2 separate regions of the Homo sapiens genome follow, and region 2 is linked to region 1. Evidence: promoter capture Hi-C in 16 types of primary human blood cells and fetal thymus (Javierre and others, 2016). All regions are on one chromosome and are shown on one strand. The core of a region is centred on a gene start or on the middle of the fragment in contact, and the rest is flanking DNA. Distances in the headings are between cores, read along the strand shown. Region 1 holds the start of RRAGA (Ras related GTP binding A). Region 2 overlaps HAUS6 (HAUS augmin like complex subunit 6).

Region 1 (5,502 bases), core at 1,729-4,228:
ACTTTGGGAGGCCGAGGCGGGCAGATCACCTGAGGTCGGCAGTTCGAGACCAGCCTGACCAACATGGAGAAAGGAGAAACCCCATCTCTACTAAAAATACAAAATTAGCCAGACAAGGTGGCACATGCCTGCAATCCCAGCTACTTGGGAGGCTGAGGCAGAAGGATCGCTTGAACCCGGCAGGCAGAGGTTGTGGTGAGCTGAGATCATGCCATTGCACTCCAGCCTGGGCAACAAGAGCAAAACTTCGTCTCAGAAAAAAAAAAAAAAAATTAAGCATAGTGGCACACACCTATAATCCTAGCTACTTGGGAGGCTGGCATGTGAGGATCCCTTGAGCCGAGGAGGTGGTGGCTGCAGTGAGCTATGATCTCACCACTGCACTCCAGCCTGGTTGACAGAGAAAGATCCTGTCTCTAAAAATAAATTTAAAAAATTTTTTTAAAAAGAAAAGAAGGCCAGGCGCAGTGGCGCATGCCTGTAACCCCAGCACTTTGGGAAGCTGAGGCGGGCAGATCACTTAAGACCAGCAGTTTGAGACCAGCCTGGCCAACATGGTGAAACCCCCTCTCTACTAAAAATACAAAAATTAGCCAGGTATGGTGGCAGGCATCTGTAATACCAGCTACTCGGGAGGCTGAGCCGGGAGAATGGCTTGAATCTGGGAGGCGGAGGTTGCAGTAAGCCGAGATAGTGCCACTGCACTCCGGCCTAGGCTGCTGAGCAAGACTCCATCTCAAAACAAAAACAAAAACAAAAATAAAACTTAGCCAGGCATGGTGGTGGAGGCCTGTAGTCCCAGCTACTTGGGAGGCTGAAGCAAGAGAATCTCTTGAACCCAGGAGGTGGAGGTTGCAGTGAGCCAAGATCGTGCAACTACACTCTAGCATGGGCAACAGAGTGAGACTCTGTCTCCAAAAAAAAGAAAAAAAATACATTAGAGGAGACTCCGTAAAATGTGATATCCAGACCTTAGGAGTATTCACATGACAGAATAGAGGAAATACATCATCAAACAATTCAAGAACATTGTTTAGAATTCAAGGGCATGGTTTCCAAATTAAAAGACACATTGGAGAGTCCAGTACAATGCAAATTTGGGCTCAACAATGCCAATTATCATTAAGTTTCAGAACACTAGAATAAGAAAATTTCGAATATGTTTTTAGAGAGGAAAGAATAGATCAAAACCAAGAAGCAGGCATCAGACTACTGGCTGCTAAAAGACGATGGAGCAACAGAGCAATGCCTCCAAGACTCTGAGGAAAAATTATGTCCAACCAATCAAGTGTGAGGGTAAAAACAAAGAAATTTTCAGACATCCAATCTCTTGAAATTTTTACTCTCCTCATACTTTTTATCTGGAAACTATTGGAACATGTGTTCCACCAAATGAGCCAAAAATGAGAAGATGTGAAATCAGGAAAAAGAATACCCAACTCGAAAGAACGGGGAAGGGAAACCCCAGAATGGTGGTGAAAGGCGATCAGATAAGAAGGCTCCAGAAGAGGTAGCACCAAGGAGATGAAACTGAATACATTGAGAGGAGATTTTCCACATACTATATTGTATTATGGAATTTCACTCTATGATTTCCATAAACTACAGCAAAGGCCATTTTTGAACTTCTTTTACTGCACACGTTAACAGTAGGAATTAAAATATTTTTTGAATAAATGAAAGAATGGAATACCTGAATTTGTACAGTACAGTATACACTTTGATAAGGGCTTTAGGCCAGGCACGGTGGCTCACGCCTGTAATCCCACACTTTAGGAGGCCGAGGCAGGTGGCTGGCTTGAGTTCCAGACCAGCCTGGCCAACATAGTGAAACCCCGTCTCCACTAAAAATACAAAAATTAGCCGGGCGTGGTGGCAGGTGCCCACAATCCCAGCTATTTGGGGGACTGAGGCAGGAGAATCGCTTGAACTCAGGAGGCGTAGGTTGCAGTGAGCTGAGATCGCGCCACTGCACTCCAGCCTGGGCAACAGAGTGAGACTCCGTCTCAAAAGAAAAAAAAAGGACTTTAAGGTAGATACAGAGGCTTCAGTATCCTGATGACTCTCATTCATTCTGTATGAACGATACTGGCGACACTGATTCACTCATCTACTTGAAGACCAAGAGCAGAATCATATTATGCTTTGAGAGGGGCACAGGGTAGCCTATTGTTAGGCAAATAGACCGCAGCAAGATTGTCTAAAACCAAATTCCATTTCATCATTTAGTATCTGTGTAACTTGGTCAAGTGACTTAACCTCTCTAACCTTTGATTCCCTAACTTGAAAATAGGGTTATTAATTCACAGGGTTACTGTGAGGATGGAACTAATGCCTGGGATTCCACATTATCATTTCCTCGAGCTTTGGAATTCTAATTATAAATTCTAAAGTCTGAGATTACGGAAAAGCAGATGTGAGAAAGGAATTAAAAGCACCCACTGGAAGCCAGGATGTCTCCTAGGAGGGACTTGCTATTACCTAGCTGCGCAGCAACAGGCAATCGCTTGCCTACAAGTCTCACTTTCCGCGCCTGCACAGTCTCCATCTGCCCTGCCCTTGTACTCACTGGGCCGGGCAAGCTGGGGAGGCCTAAGCGGACTGGGAAGTTAGGCTTTCCCTCCACTTCACCAGTCGGCTGCCCCTGCGGAAACCGGCCCGACACACCTCGCTCCTAAAGCCAGTTGCGGTGGTGGTGGCGGTTGGGGCTTTTTTTGGCCACGAGAGGGCAGCATTTCCCCCGGCCAACCACACACGTACCCCTAGCAACAGCAAACCCAGCTGCAACAGAACAAAAGACCGAAGTCCTCGAGCTTCCCTTCCATCTTAGGGCTCACGCCGCCCCGGTTAGGTTTCATTAGAGCAGCGGCTTTTCAAGGCTCGTCGGGCACGGAGGGCGGAGCGAGGGAGCTCTCGCGAGATCGCCGCCGGAAGTGGGTGGTGGCGGGGACGCAGCGGCTCCCTCCCGGAAAGCGAGCGTATCTCCCGAGCCGTTGCCACTGACAGCCGCGGGCGCTCCCATCTGAGTAAGAGCCAGCCCGTCCGCGGCCTCTCCAGCCCCGGGTTCGCGCTCTCGACTCTCCTGCCTGCCCAGCTGCGCGGCGGAGCGGAGCGAGGCGCGGCCTGCGAGTCCCCGGCAGCCCCCGACCCCTCCCTCGGCGCTGCGTGTAGGCCGCGCCCTCAGGCCCAGTCCGCGGTGCCCCGGCGGGTGATGCCAAATACAGCCATGAAGAAAAAGGTGCTGCTGATGGGGAAGAGCGGGTCGGGGAAGACCAGCATGAGGTCGATAATCTTCGCCAATTACATTGCTCGCGACACCCGGCGCCTGGGGGCCACCATTGACGTGGAACACTCCCACGTCCGATTCCTAGGGAACCTGGTGCTGAACCTGTGGGACTGTGGCGGTCAGGACACCTTCATGGAAAATTACTTCACCAGCCAGCGAGACAATATCTTCCGTAACGTGGAAGTTTTGATTTACGTGTTTGACGTGGAGAGCCGCGAACTGGAAAAGGACATGCATTATTACCAGTCGTGTCTGGAGGCCATCCTCCAGAACTCTCCTGACGCCAAAATCTTCTGCCTGGTGCACAAAATGGATCTGGTTCAGGAGGATCAGCGTGACCTGATTTTTAAAGAGCGAGAGGAAGACCTGAGGCGTCTGTCTCGCCCGCTGGAGTGTGCTTGTTTTCGAACGTCCATCTGGGATGAGACGCTCTACAAAGCCTGGTCCAGCATCGTCTACCAGCTGATTCCCAACGTTCAGCAGCTGGAGATGAACCTCAGGAATTTTGCCCAAATCATTGAGGCCGATGAAGTTCTGCTGTTCGAAAGAGCTACATTCTTGGTTATTTCCCACTACCAGTGCAAAGAGCAGCGCGACGTCCACCGGTTTGAGAAGATCAGCAACATCATCAAACAGTTCAAGCTGAGCTGCAGTAAATTGGCCGCTTCCTTCCAGAGCATGGAAGTTAGGAATTCCAACTTCGCTGCTTTCATCGACATCTTCACCTCAAATACGTACGTGATGGTGGTCATGTCAGATCCGTCGATCCCTTCTGCGGCCACTCTGATCAACATTCGCAATGCCCGGAAACACTTTGAGAAGCTGGAGAGAGTGGATGGCCCCAAGCACAGTCTCCTTATGCGTTGAATATTGCCAAATGCTCTTTCTGAAAATGCTGAATTGCCTTTTTTGTTTGCATCCTTTATTTTTAATATTCATAATGTCGTGTGCTTAAAAGTGGGCTTTGAAGTGTGTGCTGCTTACTCCTTTCATCTTTCTCCCCGCTTCCCCAGTCTTTAAACATTGGACGCTATTTACTCAGCTACCCAGTAGAGCTTGAAGCTGACCTTTCTGAGAAGTTGGTATGGTGTAACACTAAAGTAGGTGGTTCGTGTGTGTTCTCATTACCTGGTTATGATAGATATGCACATCAAAGCCTTTACCAGTATCTTCCTGTATTCCGTATCAGATTGCAAAGACGGAATGTTACTATTTTATCAGCAAGGTATTAAAATGCATTTATAAATTCTTCTTGGCTTCATTCATGAATAAACGTGTTAGCAATTTAAAACATGTCCTTATTTGAAATAACTTGAAAGTGCTTAATATGCAAATCTAAAAATTCTGACTGCCCACAAGTATTGCTTGACTGGCAAATTTGATTCTGTGAATTTAGCCCCCAGCACTTTAGTGATGTTTGGTAACAGCTGTAGAAGCGCTTATGCTATGGACTGAAGCTAGACCACCTGAGTTAGTATTCTGGTCCCTTCACTTACTAGCTCTGTGAACATGGGCAAATACTTAATTTCATTACACTTGTTTCCTCATTGGTAAAATGTGGGTCAGAATACTACTTTATAGCCAGTCGTGGTGGCTCACACCTGTAATTCCAGCACTTTGGAAGGCTGAAGTGGGAGGATCACCTGAGATCAGGAGTTCGAGACCAGCCTGGGCAATATAGAGAGACCCTCTCTCTACAAAAAAAAATTTTTTTTCATTAGCTAGGCGTAGTGGTGCGTGCCTACAGTCCTAGCTGCTTGGGAGGCTGAGGAGAGAGGATTGCTTGAGTCCAGGAGGTAGAGGCTGCAGTGAGGCATAATTGTGTCACTGGCCTCCAGTTTGGGTGACAAAGCAAGACCCTATCTCAAAAACAACAATAAAAAACCACTTGATAGGATGTTTAAAAGGATTAAATTCAACATGGTAAGTATTTAGGAATGGTGCCTAGCGCATAGCATACTCTGTTAACTACCATTACTACCTACTGAGCCATTCTTCCCCAAATTACTGGATATGAAACCTATTTGAATATTTGATCCCTTACTAAATGTCAGGTGTTCTTAAGCACTTGTGCATTTATCTTACTGAATCCTCACAACCTATGTGGTAGGTTACTTTGATCGCTATTTTAGCAGATGAGCAAACTATGATCTTATTAAGGTCATACAGCTAAACCCAGGCAATCTGACTACTGACTCTCCTAATCATTACACCCC
Region 2 (5,502 bases), core at 2,374-4,873, 35 kb after region 1:
TTTACTATTAAAGTTTACCTTAAAGAAGAGGGAAAGGCCAGACGCAACGGCTCACACCTGTAATCCCAGCACTCTGGGAGTTGGGGGTGGTGGGGGCGGATCACCTGAGGTCGGGAGTTCGAGACCAGCCTGACCAACATGGAGAAACCCTGTCTCTACTAAAAATACAAAATTAGCTGGGCGTGGTGGCACATGCCTGTAATCACAGCTACTCCAGAGGCTGAGGCAGGAGAATCGCTTGAACCCAAGAGGCAGAGGTTGCAGTGAGCCGAGATTGTGCCATTGTACTCCAGCCTGGGCAATAAGAGTGAAACTCCATCTCAAACAAACAAACAAAAAAAAAAGCGGGGGGAAAAAAATCAAATACCCCCAAACATAAAATGACGTAAATAATTTTGGCCCAGTGAAAACTACTAGGAAAGAGTAACATGCCTTGCTACATTTTTTGCTACATTTTTATATTACACAAAAGGTTGAAAACTAGAATAAAAGAAATGTTAATAGATGGAAAGAAAAATAAAGATTGAGCAGAAACAGCAGGTTTAGTGAAAAGACCATAAATTCATTTTTTAACAGAAGTTACAAATCAATGACCCCTAAAGGCTGTATCTGTACTTAAATATGTTTCTTTGGCTTGCACATTTCTATGTCTTAAAATCATTTGAATTAGTTGCCAATTTTTTAATTTTAATTTTAATTTTTTTTTTTGAGGCAGAATCCCACTCTGTCTCCCAGGCTGGGTGCAGTGGCTCAATCTTGGCTCATTGCAGCCTCCGACCCAAGCATTCAAGCGATCCTCCCACCTCAGCCTCCCAAGTAGCTGGGACTACAGATGTGCACCACCATGCCCAGCTAATTTTTGTATTTTTAGTAGAGACAGGGTTTCATCATGTTGGCCAGGCTGGTCTCAATACCTGACCGCAAGTGATCTACCCTCCTCAGCTTCCCAAAGTGTTGGGATTATAGGTGTGAGCCACCATACCCAGACAGTTTCCAATACTTTTTAAATCATAGATTTCACACAAAAATTATGGGCCAGGCACACTGGCTCACGCCTGTAATCCCAGCACTTTGGGGGCCGAGGCAAGAGGATCATTTGAGGTCAGGAGCTCTAAGCCGGCCTGGCCAACATGGTGAAACCCCGTCTCTACTAAAGAAGTGTCTCTCTTCAGAGAGTCACAACAATATTTTATCTTTGTATCTCTCCAGTATATAATAGATGCTTGATGAATTGTGTTTTCTAAGAAAACAAAAAAGTAAGCTATCCAGATAATGTCCCATAAGCAAGTGGAAATAACTGGATGGAGTTTGGGTTGATGAGGAGAGACTGCTGAAGTCATGAAATTGGTAAGAAAATACAAATACATTTATAATGACGGAAAGAAAAAGAGGGCATTAAAAGAACCATGGAGAACATTATTTAATGTTGCTTTACAAGCAACACTTAACAGCATCAAGATAAAACACAAACCAGGGGATGGAGACTTTTTAAAAGGACATTTGGCAATTAGGAGATCACTGTTGTTGCCTTTGAGAATTTATAATGAACTAGTACAGTATCATCTTCCTACTAAGAAACTTCATACTGTCTGTACTATATGATGTAGTACTGTACAGGTAAGGGGCAATTAATAAAAGTGAATATAAATATACACACCTTTAACAGTATCACTCCTTATGAAAGTTTTACTAAACACACTCATAGAAATAAATTCTGGCCGGGTGCGGTGGCTCACGCCTGTAATCCCAGCACTTTGGGAGGCCAAGGTGGGTGGATCACCTGAGGTCAGGAGCTCGAGACCAGCCTGACCAACATGGAGAAACCCCGTCTACTAAAAATACAAAATTAGCTGGGTGTGGTGGCACATGCCTGTAATCCCAGCTACTCGGGAGGCTGAGGCAGGAGAATCTCTTGAACCTGGGAGGCGGAGGTTGCAGTGAGCTGAAACCACGCCACGCCATTGCACTCCAGCCTGGGCAATAAGAGCAAAATTCTGTCTCAAAAAAAAAACAAAAAACAAAAAACAAAAAACAAATTCTGAAAGCAGAAGAACATTGCAAGAAAATATACAATTACATGATAGGAGTTTTCTCAAAAGCTTCCTTAATATCAAATGCTTACCTGAAACATTTGTTTCTCAATTTTGTCAAGTAAGAGCCTTGGAATATTAATAGCAACATTAGTTCCATCTAAAGCATATTGGTTAACAAGACTAAGGACCGAACTAACAACTTCTCTCTCTTTTTCCAAAAACATGAGCGTTTCATTCACTGAAGCCCACAAAGACCGAACCTTTGGAAACAGAAACAAAATATTAAAGTCCACACATAATCTGTACATATTTTAAAAATGTAAATGTATGTTCACTCTTAGTAACAAATTTCCTAGAATGATTTCTAGTAAGAAAATTAAATAATTATACTTTAATAGTTTAAAAGTCCCTTTGGATATTATTTCCAAAGGGAATTTTTAAAAAAATGTATCAGGAGAATCTAGCTCACTATAATTTTCAAACAAATCTAAGAATTTTTTTGTTTTCAGAGATGGGGTCTTACTATGTTGCCCAGGCCAGACTCAAACTCCTGGGCTCAAGCAATCTTCCCACATCAGCCTCCCAAGTAGCTGGGACTACAGGCACGCACCACTGCACCCAGCTCCAAATCTAAGAAATCTTATACAAGATACAATTAGCATTTTCTATATGCTGACATGTAATTAATCGAATGAAGATCATTCAGGGAGAAATAATTTTAAAAATTTTTCAAGAGAAGCCGGGCGCAGTGGCTCACGTCTGTAATCCCAGCCCTTTGGGAGGCCGAGGCAAGCAGATCACGAGGTCAGGAGATAGAGACCATCCTGGCTAACACGGTGAAACCCCGTCTCTAATAAAAATACAAAAACTTAGCCAGGCGTGGTGGCAGGTGCCTGTAATCCCAGCTACTCGGGAGGCTGAGGCAGAAGAATGGTGTGAACCCGGCAGGCGGAGCTTGCAGTAAGCCAAGATCGCGCCACTGCACTCCAGCCTAGGGGACAGAGCAAGACTCCATCTCAAAAAAAAAAAAAAAATTTTTTTTCAAGAGAAAAAAACTACTACATCTCAATTTTAAGTCATTCAGTTTGAGGAAGTTAAAGTGTAAAAAATTATGCCTCATTAAAAGCAAAAAATCTTAGGCATATACTAATCTATATTCATTAAAATTGATATACAAGAATATTTAGGCACGCACAGTGGCGCATACCTGTAATCCCAGCTACTCAGAAGGCTGAGGTAAAAGGATCCCTTAAGCCCAGGATCCTTGCAAAAAAAAAAAAAAAAAGAATACTCATAGAATGTCTATTTGTAACAATCAAAAAGTAGAATCAATCCAAAGGTCCATCCAGAGTAAAAAGGGTACATTGGTGCTATATTCATAAAATAGAACACTAAGCAGCAATGAGAATAAACATACTACAATTACACACAACAGCATGGATAAATATCATAAACAATGTTGAGCCAAAGTCAGACACAAAAGAATATATTCTATATACTGGCATTTATATGAAGTTCAAAAACAGGCAAAACTAATCTTTAGTGTAACATGTGAGGGCACTGTTTCCCCGTGGGGGCAAACAGTGTAAACTAAACAGGTTCAAGGAGGATTCTAGGGTGCTGGTAACATCCTATTCCTTAAATGATGATGGTTACATGGACTTGTTCACTTTGTGAAAATTTGTCAAGCTATATACTTATGAGTTACACATTTCTTGTATATATGTTATGCATTAACAGAATTTACAAAAGAGGGAGGGAGGTGGAGAAATATAATTATACACATGTTCTTCCTGCACGATAAAAATACAATATTAAATATCTCTAATTAGTTCACTTTTTTTCTTTTTTCTTTTTTTTTTTTTTTGAAACAAGGTCTCACTCTGTCACCCAGGCTGGAGTGCAGTGGCACAATCTTGGCTCACTGCAACCTCTGCCTCCCAGGTTCAAGTGATTCTTGTGCCTCAGTCACCCAAATAGCTGGGACTACAGGTGAGTACCACCACACCAGACTACTTTTTTATTTTTGGTAGAGACAGGGTTTCACCATGTTGGCCAGGCTGGCCTCAAACTCCTGGCCTCAAGTGATCCAACCATATCGGCCTCCCAAAGTGCTCACAGGCGTGAGCCACTGTACCCCCGCCTCTTTTTTTTTTCTTTTTTAAGACGGGTCTCGCTCTGTTGCCCAGGCTACAGTCCACTGGCACAACCAGAGCACACTGCAGCCTTGAGCTCCTGGGCTCAAACAATCCTCCTGCCTCAGCCTCCTGAGTAGGTGAAACTATAGGTGTGTGCCACCCTAAATATCTCTGACATGTTGTATGGCAAGGTAAAGTTGTTCCCAAAGGAAGACTCATTGGCTAGCAGTCTAGAGGTCTCACAGAATGGCATTTCCTTGATGAATCTGTAATTGTCCAGGATCTGGTTCTCATATTTTCCAAGTCTAGATTTTTATCTTGACAATGGCTCAAAGTTGACTGTACTCAGGGAAAACAAATATGAACCAAACTCAGAAGAGACTGATGTGAAAACTTTAATAGGTTCTGCAAATTATTTTAATTATATAATTTGCAATCAGAGATTCATTAAATGGAAAATTCCATGAAGGAAGTGACTTTGCCTTGCCTGTTCTCCTCATTGTTGTAGCCCTAATGTCTACGAGATACCTAGCACATATCAGATGATCAATACATTCACTGAATAAAAATATTTCCTGAAGAGGGCGCTAACCTTTACAGGTGACAATGTGCCTTGGAAGCCAAATTTATACCCACAGCAGCTTGGCATGGCAATCACAGAATCACAACAAAGAGCTTGAGAGAGATTTTATCCAAAAAAAAAAAAAAAGAAAACCTAAGAAAATACTTAACTCACATCAAAGCCAAACTCTGGAGGCCTCAGATCATTTTCATTTGTCAGAATCCTCCCTCCTGCCAAACCAGACTCATTTTGATTCCTCATTTTCCTTTCATACTTAACATCTCCCTTCAGTTAATCCATTTTATTTAGATAAATTAATACCACTGACTAGGTTATACTACAATCAAGCAGAGCTTTTTGTACTGGGGTGGAGAATTTCAAATTAATCATGTCTAAAAACCCTTTTGAATATAATTAAGCTTATGAACTATAAGTTCATTTTTCCATTATATTCAAGTGTTTTAGAGGCACTCTATCAATATCTTTATATATACAACCTATGAGTTTTAAAAAAAAAAAAAGTAATAGTACTATAAAAAGAAAGGGGACCGGGCGCAGTGGCTCATGCCTGTAATCCCAGCACTTTGGGAGACTGAGGCGGGCAGATCACCTGAGGTCAGGAGTTCAAGACCAGCTTGGCCAACATGGCGAAACCCTATCTCTACAAAAATACAAAAATCAGCTGCACATATTGGCACACACCTGTAATCCCACCTACTAGGGAGGCTGAGGCAGGAGAATTGCTTGAACCCAGGAGGTGGAGGTTGCA

Evidence for each region. Contacts are between HindIII fragments. The CHiCAGO score rates a contact against its expected background, and 5 or more counts as called.
Region 2: a fragment that was not itself captured here is called in contact with the fragment with the promoter of RRAGA in region 1 in 1 of 17 cell types (neutrophils); the score reaches 6.0 in neutrophils.

The regions. Positions count from the first base shown.
Region 1 is chr9:19,046,449-19,051,950 of GRCh38, forward strand. It overlaps RRAGA (Ras related GTP binding A), which reads left to right and starts at 2,979. Exons shown (of 1, transcript NM_006570.5): 1 at 2,979-4,577. The coding sequence starts at 3,212. The coding sequence ends at 4,153. It also overlaps a transcript of SAXO1 not described here. RefSeq lists an enhancer at 2,919-3,440 and a silencer at 3,048-3,237. The HindIII fragment of the contact is 15,757 bases long and covers 1-5,502 here.
Region 2 is chr9:19,080,751-19,086,252 of GRCh38, forward strand. It overlaps HAUS6 (HAUS augmin like complex subunit 6), which reads right to left. Exons shown (of 17, transcript NM_017645.5): 8 at 2,123-2,293. Among named protein-coding and RNA genes, the nearest start is that of HAUS6, 19 kb to the right of the region's middle. The HindIII fragment of the contact is 3,053 bases long and covers 2,098-5,150 here.